Linked DNA regions of Homo sapiens: all the other regions are linked to region 2. The links are contacts of gene promoters, found by promoter capture Hi-C in human tissues and cell types (Jung and others, 2019). All regions are on one chromosome and are shown on one strand. The core of a region is centred on a gene start or on the middle of the fragment in contact, and the rest is flanking DNA. Distances in the headings are between cores, read along the strand shown. Region 1 overlaps LINC01768 (long intergenic non-protein coding RNA 1768). Region 2 holds the start of GSTM1 (glutathione S-transferase mu 1). Region 3 overlaps CYB561D1 (cytochrome b561 family member D1).

Region 1 (2,700 bases), core at 73-2,572, 200 kb after region 2:
ATAAAATTCTGAGCTGTGCATCTCAGGTGTGAGAAAAGAGAATGCAGGAAAAAGGGGGCTGCTGGATTGAAAGAAAACAGAGGGATCCATGGACGGGGTACCTGATGGGGTCAGAGGTCAAGAGTAGACAAAGTGATTGAGTGGAGAAGCTGAGAGTATAGAGAAGGCCATCAAGATTAGTGATTTCAGAGGTGAGGGAGTTCTGGGTGGTGACTAAGTCTAGGGAGTGGTGATGGGAGTGGGTGGCCAAGTCACAGTGGGACAGAAGGTTGTCAGAGATGGGGAAAGCCAGCAGCTCAGAGGCTAGGGTGTGGGCTGCCACTCTCACGGACATAAAGTCATCCCGATGATGACAGGGGCTCCCTGTACACACCACACCTTACCTCTCCTGGCAACACCCCACTGTGTCTCAACCATGTGGGTTGCTATGGTGGTGGGTGTATGTGGGATGGTGGTAGTTAAAACTGGGAGGGCTCTGTGAGATGTTTCCATAATAGGAAGAGATTTTGTCACTTGTGTAAGCTTTGAACAAAATGGGTTCCTCAAAGTCCTCACATAGCTTGTTATCAAGATGAATCAGGATTGAGAAAATCTAAGATTCGTCCTCTACTCCCATGCTGATGGCAGCCCAGAATGGAACGCCTCCTCCCCTTCCCCCACTCCTGGAGCCTGCTCCTCTCTCATGTCCTCCCAGCCACTCTGTGTAGATAATTCAGTCTCACTCTCATGTCACCAACTCTGCCTCTTTCTATTTATTCCCACTGTACCTGTTCTGATTCATGTTATTGCCACCAGTCTCCTAACATTACATTGCTTCTTAACTGATTTATCTGCTCCACCCTTTCCCTCCAACTTTCCCCAGCTCCCCCTTCCAGGGGAGAGAGGACAAAGAGAGGACACTCCTAGAAATAAACTCTCCAAAATACACCCTTCCCACAGCCGTCAGCAGAGCCTCTGCAAAATGCGGGTCAGTTTAGATGACTCCTGTCATGGAAACTTCTCAGAGGGTCTCTGTGTCTACAGAACAAAGACGACACTCCTTGCTTAGCACGATACCAAGACTCCTCCTCGCCTGACCACCTACATCTCCTCCCTCCATGTCCTATGCGCCAGTCCCTGTGGGCTTTTGTATGTTAGCTGTAACAAAGCATGTACTTTCCTGACTCATGCTCTCCTCCTGTTTCTCTGGCTGGCAAGAGCCTGTGCATCCCATAGGGCTTAGCCGCAATCACACCTTCTCTTTGGTGCCTTTTTTATCCTCATAGTTCAAAATTAATCAGCCCTTTCTCTACAACAAAGCCAGCATGTTGTCAAATCTCTATTTAGCATATATTGTCAGCCTTGTATTGCAGTCAACTGTTTAGAAATCGTTCATGTAACACTTATCTATAAATATGTTTAGTTGTGTGAGACGCTGAGGACACAAAGACAGAAGGCCAGTCCCTGCCTTCAGAGTGTTCATGTTTTGGTGATGGGGGAATGGGAGTTTCTGCTAGGCTGCCAGGCAATGGCACAGCTTAGTGGTATATGCTGTGATGCTTGAAGGACGTCTACCCAGACGAGGGTCAGGGAAGACTTCCTGTGGGAAGATGACATCTCAGCTGAGGCTGGAGGGAGGAGCTGCCTGGCTTTTCAGGTAATTCCACCATGTAGTAGAATTACCAGTTTATATGTCTCTCTCCCCAGCTACAATCTAAATTTCTGAAGTTCAGAGAAATGTTTTACTTATCGCTGAGTCCCCACACCTCATTCCAGAGGCTGGCACATCTTAAACCACAGTGATGATTGTTAGGATGGGCCTCTAGACTCCTGGAAGGCAGGAGCTCTGTCTTCTCCATTCTTTTATTCTTCTCTCTTCCAGTGCCTTGTAGCGAAGCCTTGGCAGATTGGGTGTTTTCTGAAATGAGTTACAAGAGAGCTTCCCGGAAGTAGCAGGTGCTCTGGGGACACATGAGCAAACAGTTGGCCTGGGATGTGTCTCAGACTAGACAAGTGCACACAACTCATGTGACTGCTGTCTAGACCCCAGATGCCAGCAAGCTGATGCTCATCCCAGCTGGGCTCCCTGAGGCTGGCTGACCGAACAAGACCTCCCAGCTTTGGCCTGTTGTCCATCATTCTTTCCTACACGCTGCCAGGAAACGGACAGGGAAGGGGCACTTCCAGCAAGCAGAGACAGGGCCAAGAACTCCAGGGACCAGGCTGGAGTGACTTACCGGGACAGCGTGGGGGCACACTGAGATGCACCAGCAGAATGCCTCCTGCCCGGGCTAGAGATTGGACCCCAGCATGGTTTTGGAGGCTGTAGATTCAGCAGTTGTGGTGTCACGAGTCACTCATCTCAAATAAAGGACAGGGGGAACTCAGTGTGAGCCCCAAACAAGAAGCTCACAGGCAGCTTCTGAGCCCTGGGGAGAAATTGTTTGCTCCTGGGCTGGGTGGTAAGGGGGGGTTCTCCAGTGGACCCTCCTTCCTCCACCTACTTGCCACCAATTTGTATTGGGGAGGGGTTGGTATGCAGAGGGTGAAGACAGTATCATAAAAGCAGGAAAGTGTCCTGAATTCCAGGGCTGAGGAAACTCCCCCTGGGGCTCTATAGTTCCTACCAGGAAGTGGGGAATTCCCAGCAGCTTGCAGTGGGTGGTGGGGAGGTGGAGAGGGAGAAGTTTCCAGAGGGTCAGGGCTTCCTTAGGAAGGGCC
Region 2 (2,700 bases), core at 56-2,555:
CTATTTAGAATTAAACAAGTTTTATTGTGAGTCTGAAGAAACTCCCCAGGCCTCCACAAACAAGTTTATTGGGCGTCTGAAGGAACTCCCCAAACCTCCGTGATTTAGCAGGAGACAAGATAAGGGTAATCATCCCCCGCACCTGGACCCATTTAGATTAAATAAATAGACTGAGGCTCCAGAATAAGGTCCTCAGGACCCAGACCTCAGTTACAGATTAAAGAAGTTAATCACTTATGTCTTTAGATGAATGCACACTTACTTGTAGACATATACCTTAGAAGGTATATATGCTCTGGAAAACTTTGTAATATTGAGTTGGTCTGGTGGTAATTTCTAGGCCTTCTCCCTGTTACCGGTTGCAGAAATAAAACCTCTCTTCCTCCCCATTTGATCTGCATCTCGTTATTGGGCCTAGAGAAATAGCAGCCGGACCCTCAGTTTGGTCCGGGAAGTTCTTCCATCCTCCCTCGCCTGCTCTCTGTGGCCACTGCACTCACTGTTGCTGTTGCTGTTCCGGTCTCTGTGAGGTTCACCTAGTGGACTGGCTGGACATTTCTAGGGGGCACCTCAGATACCTCACCAACTTGCTGGATCTGATCCTTGGATTTCGATTCATAAATTGTGCCAAAATACGAAGTGGCTAATTTACACAGTACTTAGCCAGATGACCGAAGGACTCAGTACCCGAGGGCCCCTAACAGAAAACACAGACCACATTTCCTTTACTCTGGCCCTTTTCCTGGGGGTCCTTCCTATACCACTGACACTGTTCCTGTGTAGGCGGGGCTAGAGGGGAGACTAAGCCCTGGGAGTAGCTTTCGGATCAGAGGAAGTCCTGCTCTTACAGTGACAGGGGCTGAATTAAATTCCCAGGTTGGGGCCACCACTTTTTAGTCTGACCCCTGCAGCCGGAGTCTCCCAGAGCCCTTGGGAACTCGGCAGCGGAGAGAAGGCTGAGGGACACCGCGGGCAGGGAGGAGAAGGGAGAAGAGCTTTGCTCCGTTAGGATCTGGCTGGTGTCTCAAGCGCACAGCCAAGTCGCTGTGGACCTAGCAAGGGCTGGATGGACTCGTGGAGCCTCAGGGCTGGGTAGGGAAGCTGGCGAGGCCGAGCCCCGCCTTGGGCTTCTGGGCGCCCTGACTTCGCTCCCGGAACCCTCGGGCCTGGGAGGCGGGAGGAAGTCTTACTGAGTGCAGCCCCAGGCGCCCTCTCCCGGGCCTCCAGAATGGCGCCTTTCGGGTTGTGGCGGGCCGAGGGGCGGGGTCGCAGCAAGGCCCCGCCTGTCCCCTCTCCGGAGCTCTTATACTCTGAGCCCTGCTCGGTTTAGGCCTGTCTGCGGAATCCGCACCAACCAGCACCATGCCCATGATACTGGGGTACTGGGACATCCGCGGGGTGAGCGAGGGTCCGCTGGACGGTGGGACGAGGGCGCAGGGGAGGGAAGTGCGAAGCAGCTGCGGGACGGACTCTAGGGACCGTTCCTCTTCAGGGCTGCCCGCCTCAGAAGGGCCTGTGCATGCCGCTGTGTGTGTGTTGGGGGTGTGGGCGGGTAGAGGAGGCAACGGGTACGTGCAGTGTAAACTGGGGGCTTCCCTGGTGCAGACAAAGTCAGGGACCCTCCATCTCTGACGCGACCTGCGGGCCATCTCTCCCAGCTGGCCCACGCCATCCGCCTGCTCCTGGAATACACAGACTCAAGCTATGAGGAAAAGAAGTACACGATGGGGGACGGTAATGGCACCCTCGTGTTCGGGCTCTGCCCACTCACGCTAAGTTGGCACCAAGCAACCCATGGTGGCCACCTGTGGCTGCCTCTGCAGGCCTCCCCTGCTGGAGCTGCAGGCTGTCTCTTCCCTGAGCCCCGGTGAGGGAGCCCTCTGGCCTTGCAAGGCAGAATGCTGGGGTGGGATGCTGGGCCCCCTGTCTAATTGGGACGGGTGTCCCTCAGGGCTTGCCTAAACCCTGGAAGCCTTAGCTGTGTGGGGTCCAGAGCCCTCAGCGGGATTCTTTGTCCCTGAACCCTGGGATGTGGGACTGAGTGGTCAGATTCTAGATCCACCTGTCTCAGGGATCTTGCCACTGGCTCCGTGGGAGGGTCCCCGGGAAGGAGGGCTGGGCTCTGGGGAGGTTTGTTTTCACTTCTTCTTCCCCACCACAGCTCCTGATTATGACAGAAGCCAGTGGCTGAATGAAAAATTCAAGCTGGGCCTGGACTTTCCCAATGTAGGTGCAGGGGAAGGGGCGGTTTTGGGGGAAAGTGCAACGTGTCTCTGACTGCATCTCCTCTCCCCAGCTTAGAGGTGTTAAGATCAGGAGTCTTCTGCCCAATTCCTCTCACTCCTGGCTGTCTAAACAGTCCTTCCATGATGTTCTGTGTCCACCTGCATTCGTTCATGTGACAGTATTCTTATTTCAGTCCTGCCATGAGCAGGCACAGTGAGTGCCCGGTCTCCTCTCTGCTCTTGCTTATGGGAAGGGGATGCTGGGGAGCCTGGTGGCCCAACTGAGCTTCGCCGGTTTCCCATCCATCCAGCTGCCCTACTTGATTGATGGGGCTCACAAGATCACCCAGAGCAACGCCATCTTGTGCTACATTGCCCGCAAGCACAACCTGTGTGAGTGTGGGTGGCTGCAATGTGTGGGGGGAAGGTGGCCTCCTCCTTGGCTGGGCTGTGATGCTGAGATTGAGTCTGTGTT
Region 3 (2,700 bases), core at 6-2,505, 190 kb before region 2:
AGGGGGCACCCCTGGTCTTGATGCCTCAAGCCCAGCATTTCTGGGTCCCCTCTGCAAGCTCAGAGAGCAGGGAGGCTTCTGGTAGTGCTCTTGATGCTCCTGTGTCTGGTTGGCACAAAGATCCTGTGTAACATGAAATGAAAGGTGCATCAGCTTGGGGGCTGGGAAACCTGCAGTATGGGTTTACTCCGTCCCTATCACTGGTGTGGCTGTGGGCAAACCACTTATTGCCTGACCTACCTCACAGGGATGTTGTGAGGGTTTGATGAGAGAATGAATGTTAATAGGAATTGGAAAATTCAAAGCATTAAACACATGTAAACAGGTGGTATTATTATGTTCTTGTCCTTCTCTTTCACTGAGCCAGGCTTTGGGCTTTATGCTTCTTAGGCAATAAACAGTTATGGATAATGACAGGGGATCTAAGTCTCAGAGAGTTGTTCTGGCCATCATAAGAAAACATGGACACATTTCTTCCTTCCAGATGCAAGGTCAGCTCTTACCAACTCCTGCCAGAAATGCCACCACGGCCATGACTAGTGAAGTTTGCCGTAAGTGCTGCCTACCTGGTGTTCCCAAATCACAGGGCAGACTGCAGATCTCGGAGTCAGTACAATTCCTCCCTAGGTCCAGCCTGAAGTTCCTGGAGCTGGTCTTCGTAGGGAGCTGCAGGTCACAAGTCTATCTAAATCTCTCCTAATTCTGCCCTTCTGAGGGAAAAGTGGAGCAGACAAGCTAGGAAGGGAGGAGCAACTGGAGCAAACAGCATCGCCACAGACCCTCTGTTTACCGAAGCCACAGAATGAGCAACACCTGCCTCAGGCATTGGAGATGCAGAGCAGGGACCCCTGGCTTCCCAGGGTCCACAGCCTGGTTTCCCTTTCCCCATTTCAGGCTCGTGGAATAGGATCAGTCCCCTCCTCCTCCAAGTGCTTTATTGGCATTCACATACACACACACACACACGCACACACACACACTGAAAGCAGTTCTGTTTAAGTTTTAAATTGGGGAAGAATACTTTCCATTCCATTTGTCTGAGAGCAGCAGCAGTCTGCCTGGAGTGGATGCAAAGAAGCAGGAACAGCAAAACAGCAGTGCAGAGGCTTGAATATTCGTTTTTTATCTTAATTGCTTTTTCTGTCCTGGGATCCAGGAATGAAACACTAGTCAGGCATTGTGTGCAGAGCCTCAGCAGTTCTCACCAGCACTGCACAAAGACGACAAGCTGAAAGGCAGAACTGCCCTGGAGGGTGGTTTGAAGTAGCCCGTCTCCAGCATGGCGCTGGGCTTAACCCCTTCATGTAGGCAGAAATTACCTCCAGTGAGGGGACCTTCCCCCTACCCACCCACTCAGGAGACTCAGCTAGTCACCAGATGCATCACAGAATAACAATCTCAGTTTATAATCCTGCTATTGCTAGGATTTCCCAGATGAGTTTTTAACCTCTGTTGGAAGCAGATTAAGGAACGACTTCAGGCTATTCAGTGGCATCTGAGGAGCCAACTCTGTCTCACTGAGTATACATGAGTGGCCCCCTAGCACCCCTATCTTTAAAGCAGATACCCAGTTATCTCATGGTGCTTTCTAAGGATGCTCAGTTCTGCTCAGGCCCCCCAAAAGCAAACTATGACCAAGTGAGGGAGCAGTGGGAGGTAAGGGAAATGCAGCACAAAGTACAATCCAACTCCAGTACTTGCCAACCTGTATGTGTGCGCACATGCACGCATACACCAGCCTTGGAGGCAATGACTCCTGCCTAATGTATGCCAGTGCCAAAGGGCATCCAGAAGTCCCACTGCAGGGCTCCACGTCCTGGCTCACTGCAGGTTGGTTCTCTCAGGCCATGGTTCCAACCAGGGAGAGTAAACAAGCTGACTAGATTGGAGGCGTCAGGGCAGGTCTAAGTGTCTTCACCATTTTGCATTTTCCACCTAAGAGTGTAGAAGCCTGATGAAGGGGCTTGACTGGCAGCTGCTTTAGCCTTCCTCTCTCAAGCCCCAGGAGAGGAAGCATTCAGCACAGGCTGACTGTGACTAGACCAGAAAAGCCAACCGTCCCACTGCAGGGGCCTGAGCCTTTTCTGCTATGTGGGTGGAGAAAGTGAAGCTTCCCCACTGGTTTCCTGGGAGATACAAGATAAGTGGTGCAAGAAGTGCATGCAGAAAGGGAAGGAGTTGAGAGACTGGGGGGAAGAGAGGCCAGGTTAACCAATGCACTGAACTCTTACCTATTCTCAAAGAAAACTGTCATATTAGCCTCCTCCCTCCCCGCAAGTGCTACCTAAGAGGAGCCAGGGTAAGTGCTGCAAGGCATGGCAGACAAAATTGCACATCTTGGCCAGAATCTAAGGAACTTCTTGTGGTTTGGGGGAGGTGGTGAGGATGTGGGTGGTGGGTGGGTGGGGGGTGTTGAAGAGATGCAGCCATGGACTTCCTTGGGCTTGGCACAGGCCAAAACAGAAGAGAGAACTCCAAACTCCAAGTAGTCCTCATCAGACTTGCTCTCCTTATCAGCTTCATCCTGTCAGCCAAATTGTCAGCCATAGAAAAACTGCTTTGCAGATGAAAAACTATATAAATGCAGAGTATGGGAGTGCTCTGACATCAACAGCTGTCATTTCACTGACTGCCAAGGTTGACTTGTCTGATGTGGCTGGTTGTGCAGTAGCTCCACCCCTCGTCACCTTGGTTGTTCCT

Evidence for each region. Contacts are between HindIII fragments. The study calls those that stand out against the background at their distance.
Region 1: a fragment that was not itself captured here is called in contact with the fragment with the promoter of GSTM1 in region 2 in 2 of the 25 tissues and cell types used here (pancreas and thymus).
Region 3: a contact is called between a fragment that was not itself captured here and the fragment with the promoter of GSTM1 in region 2, in 2 of the 25 tissues and cell types used here (heart left ventricle and lymphoblastoid cells).

Annotation. Positions count from the first base shown.
Region 1 is chr1:109,890,089-109,892,788 of GRCh38, forward strand. The region is part of intron 4 of LINC01768 (long intergenic non-protein coding RNA 1768); the gene reads left to right. Among named protein-coding and RNA genes, the nearest start is that of CSF1, 19 kb to the right of the region's middle. RefSeq lists an enhancer at 159-453. The HindIII fragment of the contact is 4,600 bases long and covers 1-2,700 here.
Region 2 is chr1:109,686,512-109,689,211 of GRCh38, forward strand. It overlaps GSTM1 (glutathione S-transferase mu 1), which reads left to right and starts at 1,306. Exons shown (of 8, transcript NM_000561.4): 1 at 1,306-1,398; 2 at 1,659-1,734; 3 at 2,162-2,226; 4 at 2,537-2,618. The coding sequence starts at 1,363. RefSeq lists an enhancer at 1,356-1,405. The HindIII fragment of the contact is 14,943 bases long and covers 1-2,700 here.
Region 3 is chr1:109,500,105-109,502,804 of GRCh38, forward strand. It overlaps CYB561D1 (cytochrome b561 family member D1), which reads left to right. Exons shown (of 3, transcript NM_182580.3): 3 at 1-331. Among named protein-coding and RNA genes, the nearest start is that of CYB561D1, 7.4 kb to the left of the region's middle. The HindIII fragment of the contact is 8,294 bases long and covers 1-2,700 here.